3 separate regions of the Homo sapiens genome follow, and all the other regions are linked to region 3. Evidence: promoter capture Hi-C in human tissues and cell types (Jung and others, 2019). All regions are on one chromosome and are shown on one strand. The core of a region is centred on a gene start or on the middle of the fragment in contact, and the rest is flanking DNA. Distances in the headings are between cores, read along the strand shown.

Evidence for each region. The method cuts DNA at HindIII sites, captures the fragments that hold promoters and counts their contacts. A contact is called where the count stands out against the background at its distance.
Region 1: a contact is called between a fragment that was not itself captured here and the fragment with the promoter of GOLGA2 in region 3, in 3 of the 25 tissues and cell types used here (dorsolateral prefrontal cortex, lymphoblastoid cells and spleen).
Region 2: a contact is called between a fragment that was not itself captured here and the fragment with the promoter of GOLGA2 in region 3, in 2 of the 25 tissues and cell types used here (dorsolateral prefrontal cortex and lymphoblastoid cells).

What each region holds. Positions count from the first base shown.
Region 1 is chr9:128,343,035-128,346,372 of GRCh38, forward strand. SLC27A4 (solute carrier family 27 member 4) reads left to right here. Exons shown (of 13, transcript NM_005094.4): 2 at 93-259; 3 at 2,121-2,515. The coding sequence starts at 99. Among named protein-coding and RNA genes, the nearest start is that of SLC27A4, 4.2 kb to the left of the region's middle. The HindIII fragment of the contact is 5,235 bases long and covers 1-3,338 here.
Region 2 is chr9:128,194,115-128,197,469 of GRCh38, forward strand. It overlaps a transcript of CIZ1 not described here. Among named protein-coding and RNA genes, the nearest start is that of CIZ1, 4.2 kb to the left of the region's middle. The HindIII fragment of the contact is 6,885 bases long and covers 1-3,355 here.
Region 3 is chr9:128,274,126-128,277,538 of GRCh38, forward strand. GOLGA2 (golgin A2) reads right to left here and starts at 1,882. Exons shown (of 27, transcript NM_001366244.2): 1 at 1,768-1,882. The coding sequence starts at 1,851. It overlaps SWI5 (SWI5 homologous recombination repair protein), which reads left to right and starts at 2,151. Exons shown (of 5, transcript NM_001318089.2): 1 at 2,151-2,277; 2 at 2,582-2,630. The coding sequence starts at 2,216. RefSeq lists enhancers at 1,346-1,395, 2,256-2,385 and a silencer at 1,546-1,655. The HindIII fragment of the contact is 26,420 bases long and covers 95-3,413 here.

The sequences.
Region 1 (3,338 bases), core at 513-3,012, 69 kb after region 3:
CTTGGGATCACAGTGGCCTGGCTGTCTGGGCTGGGAGGTAGGAGACCTGGAGGGTTGGGTGTTTGGGTCCACTAACTGCCCTGTGTCCGCAGGCCACAATGCTGCTTGGAGCCTCTCTGGTGGGGGTGCTGCTGTTCTCCAAGCTGGTGCTGAAACTGCCCTGGACCCAGGTGGGATTCTCCCTGTTGTTCCTCTACTTGGGATCTGGCGGCTGGCGCTTCATCCGGGTCTTCATCAAGACCATCAGGCGCGATATCTTGTGAGTACCTGGCCCAGCCTTTCCTGGGGTCTGCCACACTACAGTGAGCTTCTGGTCCCCCAAATCTCCCCAGGCCAGACCTCATGTTCTCTACCAGCACAGGGCAGCTGAGCTGAGTTCCAGAACAGCAGCCTCTGCTCCACACCCGTACCCTGGCAATAGTACCTGGTCCCTCCATCTCCAAGGTCAAAGTCTTCTCCCAGGGAATCTCCCTAACTTGAGGCTCCCAGGCCTTGGGCAGGCTTGGCCTAGGACGTACATTGAACACCAAGTGTGTTGAGACATCTGCAAGGGGTCCTGAGGACTCTGTAAGTTTATGAAAGGGTAAAGAGGAATTTTGGGGAAAGGCCCTGCCCTCAGGTTGGCAGGGGTGTGAGATGGCACAGGGGGCACTGAGTTCTAGAGCAGAGCCCCTACTCAGATGTCTGGGATAACCTGCTCCCCAAAGAAAGCCCGGTATGCTCCAAGGGACATCCTGTACCAGAAATATCTATTCCCGCTTGTTCTCTACTAGGTGCCAGGCTAGCTTTGGGGTCCAGAGAGGAATAAGGCAGACCCCATCTGCCAAGCTCAGATTGGTCAGGAGAAAGAAAGGGACACAGCACATCTGTAAATTGGCAGTGCCATGTGGGCAGAGACCCTGGCACAGCCTTGCTCACTACTGTGTCCCAGCACCCAGTTCAGTGACCCACACCCCACACAGGCAGCTCAGCATTTGTCAATCTTGGTTGATTGCAAAAGAAGGCACGGAGTGGCACACCAGGAAGGGTGGTAGCTGTGGGAGCATGGAGCAAGGAGAAACAGCTGCCAGCCAGGACCCTGGGAATCAGAGAAGGCCTCCTGGAGAAAAAGCGGCTGTACTTGAGAGGCGCCTTAGTGGTGGTGGAAGGAGATGAATCCAACCAGAAGGCACAGCATCAGCAACAAAGGCATGGAGTCCAGGGCTGGGCGCAGTGGCTCACACCTGTGATCCTAGCACTTTGGGAGGCCGAAGTGGGTGGATCACTTGACCTCAGGAGTTTGAGACTAACCTGGGCAACATGGCAAAACCCCGTCCCTACCAAAATACAAAAAAGTTAGCCAGGCATGGTGGTGCACACCTGTGGTTCCAGCTACTTGGGAGGCTGAGGTGGGAGCATCATTTGAGCCTGGGAAGTGGAGGTTGCAATGAGCTGACATTGCATCACTGCACTCCAACCTGGGTGACAGAGTGTGACGCCATCTCAAAAAAAAAAACAAAAAAACAAAGGTGGCAGGAATGGGATGTTGCCAAGTGATTCCACAAACTTATTGAACATCTACTCTGCCTGGCACAGGACCCAGGGGATAGAGTGTTGAATAAGACAGAAGCCTATCCCAGCTAGGCTCACAGGGAGGAAGACTGGACAGACCAGCAAACTCATTCATTATTTACTGTGGTCATGGTGGGTCGAGGGAGCAGCTGGACTGTGGGAGGCCCCAAACAAGGAGTTTGGACTTTTACAGGAAGCTCTGGAGACCTAGGAGGTTTCTGCTGGAGCAGCAGGCTGAGAGGGTAGGAGTAGAACTCTGGAGCCAGAGAGGCCTAGAGTTCAAATCTCAGCTCAGCCACCCTCCATCCATGAAGCTTTGAGCAGGCCACGGCACCACGAGAGCCTTGATTTCCTTCTGTGTAAGGGGAGGGGAATCATACGAACTCTCAGTGTTATTGAGAGGCATCAGTAAGGCAGTGCATGTTCCCAGCAGGAGCCAGGAGATAGAAGTGTTGTAGGGGGTCTGGCTCATGAAGCATAGGCTGGCGAGGCAGCAGCCTGGGGTAGGGTGTCAGGACCCCTCCCTCCCAACCATGGCAGACACAGCGCCCTCTCTTGTTCACACACAGTGGCGGCCTGGTCCTCCTGAAGGTGAAGGCAAAGGTGCGACAGTGCCTGCAGGAGCGGCGGACAGTGCCCATTTTGTTTGCCTCTACCGTTCGGCGCCACCCCGACAAGACGGCCCTGATCTTCGAGGGCACAGATACCCACTGGACCTTCCGCCAGCTGGATGAGTACTCAAGCAGTGTAGCCAACTTCCTGCAGGCCCGGGGCCTGGCCTCGGGCGATGTGGCTGCCATCTTCATGGAGAACCGCAATGAGTTCGTGGGCCTATGGCTGGGCATGGCCAAGCTCGGTGTGGAGGCAGCCCTCATCAACACCAACCTGCGGCGGGATGCTCTGCTCCACTGCCTCACCACCTCGCGCGCACGGGCCCTTGTCTTTGGCAGCGAAATGGCCTCAGGTGAGCCCCAAGGGGGCGGGGGACAAGCAGGAACCCCATGGGATCTTACACAGACCACAGCTCCCTTCCAGCCCTGCCAAGGCTGTGTGGGTCAGTGGTTAAGGGCACAGAGTGGAGTCAGACAGCTTAGGCAGTGCCACGAGTAAACGAGATCCTGGGGAAGGGACTGATTTCTCTGAGCCTCAGTTTCCTCATCCGTCGTTCCTACCTCATACTGTTTTCAAAAAGGTACTTCAGACTGGGCATAGTGGCTCACAGCTGTAATCCCAGCATGTTGGGAGGCCAAGGCAGGAGGATCCCTTGAGCCCAGGAGTTTGAGACCAGCCTAGGCAACATAGTAAGACCCTGTCTCTACTAAGAAATTTTTTTGAGACAGGGTCTTGCCCTGTCACCCAGGCTGGAGTGCAGTGGTGCAGTCACAGCTCACTGCAGCCTTGACCTCTCAGGCTCAAGCAGTCCCTCCACCTCAGCCTCCTGAATAGCTGGGACCACAGACATGCACCACCATGCCTGGCTAAATTTCACATTTTTTGTAGATACTCAGTTTTGCCATGTTGCCCAGGCTGGTCTCAGACTCTTGAGTTCAAGCGATCCACCTACCTCTGCCTCTCAAAGTGCTGGGATTATAGGCATGAACCACCACACCTGGCCTACTAAAAAAAGTTTTTTGTTTTTTTTTGTTTTTTTTGTTGTTGTTGTTTTGAGATAGAGTCTTGCTCTGTCGCCCAGGCTGGAGTGCAGTGGCGTGATCTCGGCTCACTGCAACCTCCACCTCCCGGGTTCAAGCAATTCTCCTGCCTCAGCCTCCTGAGTAGCTGAGATT
Region 2 (3,355 bases), core at 24-2,523, 81 kb before region 3:
ACTTTGGGAGGCTGAAGCAGGCGGATCACCTGAGGTCAAGAGTTCAAGACCAGCCTGGCCAACATGGTGAAACCTCATCTCTACTAAAAATACAAAAATTAGCCGGGCATGGTGGCAGACGCCTGTCATCCCAGCTACTCGGGAGGATGAGGCAGGAGAATTGCTTGAACCTGGGAGCCGGAGGTTGCAGTGAGCCAAGATCGTACCATTGCACTCCAGCCTGGGTGACAAGAGCAAAACTCCATCTCAAAAAAAAAAAAAAAAAAAAGAATCTTGCACATGTTTTGCCCTTTGACCCAATAACACCATTTGTAGGAGTCTAGCCTAAGAAAATAATCAGAAATGAGACTTTTACAAGATAGCAGGTTGTTCATGGAAATATTTATATATTTTTTCTTTTTTCTTTTTAAGGACAGCCTCAGCTGGGCATGGTGGCTCACGCCTACAATCCCAGCACTTTGGGAGGCTGAGGTGGGTGGATCGCCTGAGGTCAGGAGTTCGAGACCAGCCTGGCCAACATAGTGAAACCCCGTCTCTACTAAAAATACAAAAAATTAGCTGGGCCTGGTGGTGGGCACCTGTAATCCCAGCTACTCAGGAGACTGAGGCAGGAGAATCGCTTGAACCTGGTAGGCAGAGGTTGCAGTGAGCCAAGATCCCATCGTTGCACTCCAGCCTGGGCAACAAGAGCAAAACTGTCTCAAAACAAAACAAAAAAAAAGAGACAGGGTCTTGCTCTGTCTCCCAGTCTGGAGCGCAGTGGCACGATCATAGCTCACTGCAGCCTTTCCCTCCCTGGCTCAATGGAGCCTCCTACCTCAGCCTCCTGAGCAGCTAGGACTACAAGTCCATGCCACCACGCCCAGCAAATTTTTGTATTTTTTTTTTTAAAGACAGGGGTCTCACTATGTTGCCCGGGCTGGTCTTGAACTCATAGGTTCAAGTGATTCTCCTACCATGGTCTCCTGAAGTGCTGAGATTACAGGTGTGAGCCACCACATTCAGCCAAAACATTATTTATAATAGCTGTCTGGAAAATAATCAACTTTAGGGGAATAGCTAAATAAGTCATGGTGTCACCTTTTAAGGAACAGTGCCCAGCCATCAGAAATTATGTTTTCAAAGGATAAACACCCACAATATGATGTGAAGTGAGCTCACTGGCTTATAAAATGCATGCACATTACCATCCCAGGTGTTTTTGTTTTGTTTTGTTTTTTTGAGACAGAATTTTGTTCTGTCATCCACGCTGGAGTGCAGTGGTGTGATCTCAGCTCACTGCAGTCTCTGCCTCCTGGATTTAAGTGATTCTCGTGCCTCAGCATCCTGAGTAGCTGAGACTACAAGCATGCGCCACCACACCCGGCTAATTTTTGTATTTTCAGTAGAGATGGGGTTCCACCATGTTGACTAGGCTGGTCTCAAACTCCTGATCTCAAGTGATCTACCCACCTTGGCCTCCCAAAGTGCTGGGATTACAAGCGTGAGCCTCCATGCCAGGCCTTCCAGACCTATTCTGCTCCAGGACTTTATCTATCTATCCCTTCTCATGGACTCTATCTATCCCTTCTCATGATGATGTCACATACTTTGATTATTATAGCTTTAGAATATGTTTACCCCCTCATAGTGCAAGCCCCTGACATTGTTATTCTTTAAAAAATTTTTGCTAATTCCCAATTATATATTTTTTTCAGATACTTCATAGAATTTTGTCAAACCTTCCCCAGCCTCTGAAATCCCATCAGAATTTTTGTTTGTTTGTTTTTGAGGCAGAGTCTCGCTCTGTCGCCCAAGCTGGAGTGCAGTGGTGCAATCTTGGTTCACTGCACCCGCTGCCTCCTGGGTTTGAGTGATTCTTGTGTCTCAGCCTCCCAAGTAGCTGGGATTACAGGCATGCACCACCACACCCAGCTAATTTTTTGTATTTTTAGTAGAGATGGGGTTTTACCATGTTGTCCAGGCTGGTCTCGAACTCCTGACTTCAGATGATCCACCCACCTTGGCCTCCTAAATTGCTGGGATTACAGGCATGAGCCACTAAACCTGGACCTCATTAGAATTTTGATTGGTGTTGCACTAAATATGTTTAAATTAGAGAAAAACTGACGTCTTTACCCCCCGTTTTTCAGTTTAAGAAGGAGGTAAATGGGCCAGGTGTTGTGACTCACACCTATAATCCCAATAGTTTGAGAGGCCAAGGTGGGAGGATTCCTTGAGCCCAGAAATTCAAGACCAGGCTGGACAATATAGGGAGATCACCGTCTCTACAAATAACTAAAAATTAGCTGGGCATGGTGGTGTGTGCCTGTAGTCTCAGCTACTTGGGAGGTTGAGGTGAGAGGATCACTTGGGCCAGAGAGGTCAAGTCTACAGTGAGCCACGATCGTGCCACTGCACTTCAGCCTTGGCAACAGAGTGAGACCCTGTCTCAAAAAAAAAAAAAGAAAGAAAGAAAGAGAAAAGAAAAGAATGAGGTGAATGTCTCTATTATTTATTTATTTATTTGAGACAGAGTCTCGCTCTGTCTTCAGGCTGGAGTGCAGTGGCACGATCTCTGCTCAATGCAACCTCCACCTCCCGGGTTCAAGCAATTCTCCTGCCTCAGCCTCCTGAGTGGCTGGGACTACAGGCACCCGCCACCACGCCCGGCTAATTTTTGTATTTTTAGTAGAGACAAGGTTTCACCATGTTGGCCAGAATGGTCTCGACCTCTTGACCTTGTGATACCCCCGCCTCAGCCTCTCAAAGTGCTGAGATTACAGGCATGAGCCACTGCACCTGGCCGCGAATGTCTCTATTTATTCAAGCCTTGCAGTAAGTTAGTTTCACAGGCCTCTTCACCTAGTACTTGCACAGTTTCTATGGTAGCTATTATTGCTATTTTCCCAGTACTCTTTCTAACTGGCAATTGACTATAGCTTCTTTATCTTGTAACCTGCCACCTCCCCACCTTGCACTATTTCTGTCCTCAGCAATGTCGTGTGCCCTTGATGGTAGAAAGTACCTGCCAAGTTGTCCTCATGTCCTTGGGACCCAGCTCAGAACCCTGCACATCGCAGGTTTGTGTGGTGAAGGCTGATTAAATTAGTGAATGATGAATGAATGAATGGATTGCTTCAGGATGCAATTTCTTCCCTCTGTCCTCAGGTTAGCGTTCATCATAGCAGCCCTTCGCGCCTTTTATATCTGTGTCCATCACCCTACAGAGGCAAGTTCCAGTGAGGCACCCAGCATAGGCCATAAGGTGGGCACCCCCAGCAGATGCCCCAGCTCAGAATCCCTGGGAATAGGCTGTATTCAACAACAGCTCCAAGTCAGACAAGAGGCAGAGAAATACATAAGACCATATGCT
Region 3 (3,413 bases), core at 632-3,131:
AGGGATTGATACCATGGCTTAAAAAAGGCAAGAATTGAACTTAAACTCAGTCTTCTGACTCCAAGCTCTGGGGTTTTGCCACAAATCAGCAGCTGCCAGGGGCCAAAACCAGAGGCAGAGGTACTTTTCCACCTCTCATCCCAGAAACGGGATGAGAACACTTAGGGATTGGGTCCTAAGATCAAAAGCTGGTTTCACGCACTAATTACGGTTCCGAGGGGGACTGCGACATCACTACATTCCACTCCACCAAGGAGAATTCAAATATGAGGTGGAGAAGTCAAGCCTGGAGTCCCAGCTACCTGGGAGGCTAAGGCAGGAGGATTACTTAAGGCCAGGAGTTCAAGGTCAGACTGGGCAACACAGTGACACCCCCTCTCTAAAAATAAATATGTATCTTAAAATGTGGGCCGGAACATTAAGTCGGCAGGAACTGTACACTGTGTGGTTTAGAGTCATACATCCTCACACGTTTGGTAATGTTAAGAAATGCACCAATGCCTCTCAAACTTTTACATCAATGTATCCACATGGCAGAAGGCAGCCTTTCTGTTGAACCTGGGAATTTAACAGAAAGAGGACAACCCAAGCCTCATTTCAGAGAAAAGTCTGGTATACTCTTAGAAATTTATGTGACTGTCATCCCTAAGTACATTAATGTTTTTTCTCTCTCAAGAGAATAAAGGGAGACTGATGCTTCAGAAAGATGCCCCGTATTTATCCTGTGGCACTCCAAGTACCCCAGGTTGAGATGATATGAGGAAGATTCAAGCTGTCAAGTTCAGTTTCCCAAGACCTGTTCCACAGAAGATAAGCAGATCTCATTCCAGAGACCACTGAAGGGCACTCTGGTCCCAGAACCATGGAGAATTCGAATATGAGGTGGAGAAGTCAGAAAAAAATGTTAAAGTCTCTCTGGAGAGTAGAAGCCTGGGGGAAAACCAAACCAATCCCGTTCTCACATTGCCACCCAGAGATACTGCCAATGTTTTCAGTTCACGGGTGAAGTGTAGGCTTTTCACACTGTCAATGTCTATGTTAAGGGTGTAAGGCAGCCTGAAACCTCTCCCTCCTAGGTCCCATAGTCCCCAATCCCCTTCCAGCTGGAAATTTATGCTGTGACCAGAGGAACCAGAAGCGGGATGAGAACACTTAGGGGACTGGGTCCTAAGATCAAAGACTGGTCTCGCGCAACTAATTACGGTTCCGAGGGGGATTGTGACGTCACTACATTCCACTCCTAGGGGGAACATCAGCGCGACGTCCAAGTCGCCGCTCCGCGATGGGGGAGGGGACCGCAGGGCCAGGACCCAGGTCCTTGGAGACCCGAGACCAAAGAACCCCGGGAGGTCCGGTTTGGGGCGGCAGGAGGTGAGGGTCGAGTCTGGAGCGGGGGGCCCCGGGAGTCACGGGCCCAAAGTCACTGGCGAGGGCAGGGGCTGAATTGCTGGGGTCCTAGGTCCTTGGAGACGCCAGCCCAAAGAGCCCAGGGAGGTCGGACTTCGGGGGGCAGGAGGTGAGGGCCGAGTCTGGAGCGGGGAGCCCCGGGAGCACCAGCCCAAAGTCACCCGGGGGCGACTGGCGAGGGCGGGGGCTGGGCGGCTGAGGGGGCGGGGCTGGCTGACAAGACTTTGGTGGAGGGAGCCCGGACGCGCCGTGGGGAGCCCAGCCCGGTGTGCCTCAGGAGTGGCAGAGACTCTGGCCATGGTCCTGCCATCGGAGTGGGGCTGGGGCTGGGTCGGGGGGCCGCGACCCGGTGCACTTTACCTTTTTCTTCGCTGCGGCCAATTTGCTCTGTCGGGTTTCTTCCGACATCGCGGGGCGGGGAGGGAGGCGGGGTTGGGGCCACATCAGCGCGATCCCGGCAACCACTGCGGAAGTCAGTCAGCCACCGCGCAGCTGTGCGACGGAGCCAGAGGAGGCGTAACCAGGGCGATACTGGAGCGCAGAATGGGGGCGTGGCCTCAAAGATCAAAGCCCATTGGTCAATGAGAAATATGAAGCGGAAGGGGGCGTGGCTATGCAGCGGCGTGGCCAGAGGGACCTGTGGCGTCACAACAAAAGCTGCGCACGCAACCGCTGTCCCCGCCCACCTCGGGAGAGGGGCGGGGCCGGCTTTCCTTGGGTGCGCGCGCAGCTTTCTGTGCGCCAGTTCACACTCCGGGTCAGAGTTCCTGGCCCGGTGCACCTGAGAGGTCGCTCTCCGACTCCCGCGCTGGACCCTCTTGCGCCATTGAACCCCCTGATCCGGGGGCCTCGGACCCCAGGGCTCAGGAGGTGGGCGAGGAACGGACTCCACAGTTTCTTTCCTGACTCCTCACAGCCCTGCCCCAGACTCTCCCTTCCCAGAAATCACCTCCAAAGACTCCCATCCAGTGCTCCAGACAACCCCCGTCTCAGAACGCCCCCTTCCTAGAGGGTCTCTACCCTGATCCTGAGAGCGTGTCTGCCCCCTTTCCAGATGGATCCAGTCCCTGGCGCTCCTACTTCCCAACTGCTCCTCCTCCCGCATCCCCACAGTACCCCGTCCTCACAGCGGGCTGTGGGTCCAATCAGACTTTCCCCTCGGATTCCTCTCTAGGACTGAACCAAGACTTACCCGAAGTTGCCGCGGGGCCTTCCGATCCCCTGTGAGTATTTCTTCCCCCACACCCCCTTTCCCATCCTCGACCTTCCCTTGTGCGCTCCCGGCCCCACTCCCCATCCCAACAGCAGCCAATCCCCGCTTGGCCCTCTTCCATATCTTCTCCCAGTCGACTGAGAACCGCCAGGTCATTCCCGAATCCCTCCCCTTCCTTTCCTCATGCCCGCCAGTCTTCAAAGAAGTGTTATCCTGTCCTGTCCTAGGCTAACTCCTCTCCCTCCCCATCCTGTCTCCTGGCTCCTCAGATGCCTTTCACTCCAGTCCAGCACCAGCCATCTCTCCTCCTCGCTCTTTTCACCCCTCACCCAGCCCTGCCTTTAAACAAACCCATAGCTCCCCAGTCAGGAAAATGCTTGGCGTTCACCCTGGCCACTCCTTTCGTTGCTAATAGTCTCTCCTCTTCGCTGGCAAGCCACCCCCAAAACGCAGCCTACTCCTTCTCTCATCCCCCAGATGGAGTTGCCACTACAACTACCACCACTCTTAAGGTAGATCGTGAGGGCCGGGTGCAGTGGCTCACACCTGTAATCCCAGCACTTTGGGAGGCTGAGGCGGGCAGATCATTTGAGGTCAGGAGTTCAAGACCAGCCTGCCCAACATGATGAAACCCTGTCTCTACTAAAAATACAAAAAAATCAGCCGAGCGTGGTGGTGCAGGCCTGTAATCCCAACTACTCAGGAGGCTGAGGCAGGAGAATTGCTTGAACCCGGAAGGTGGAGGTTGCAGTAAGCCGAGATTGCACCACTGCACTCCAGCCTGGACAACAGA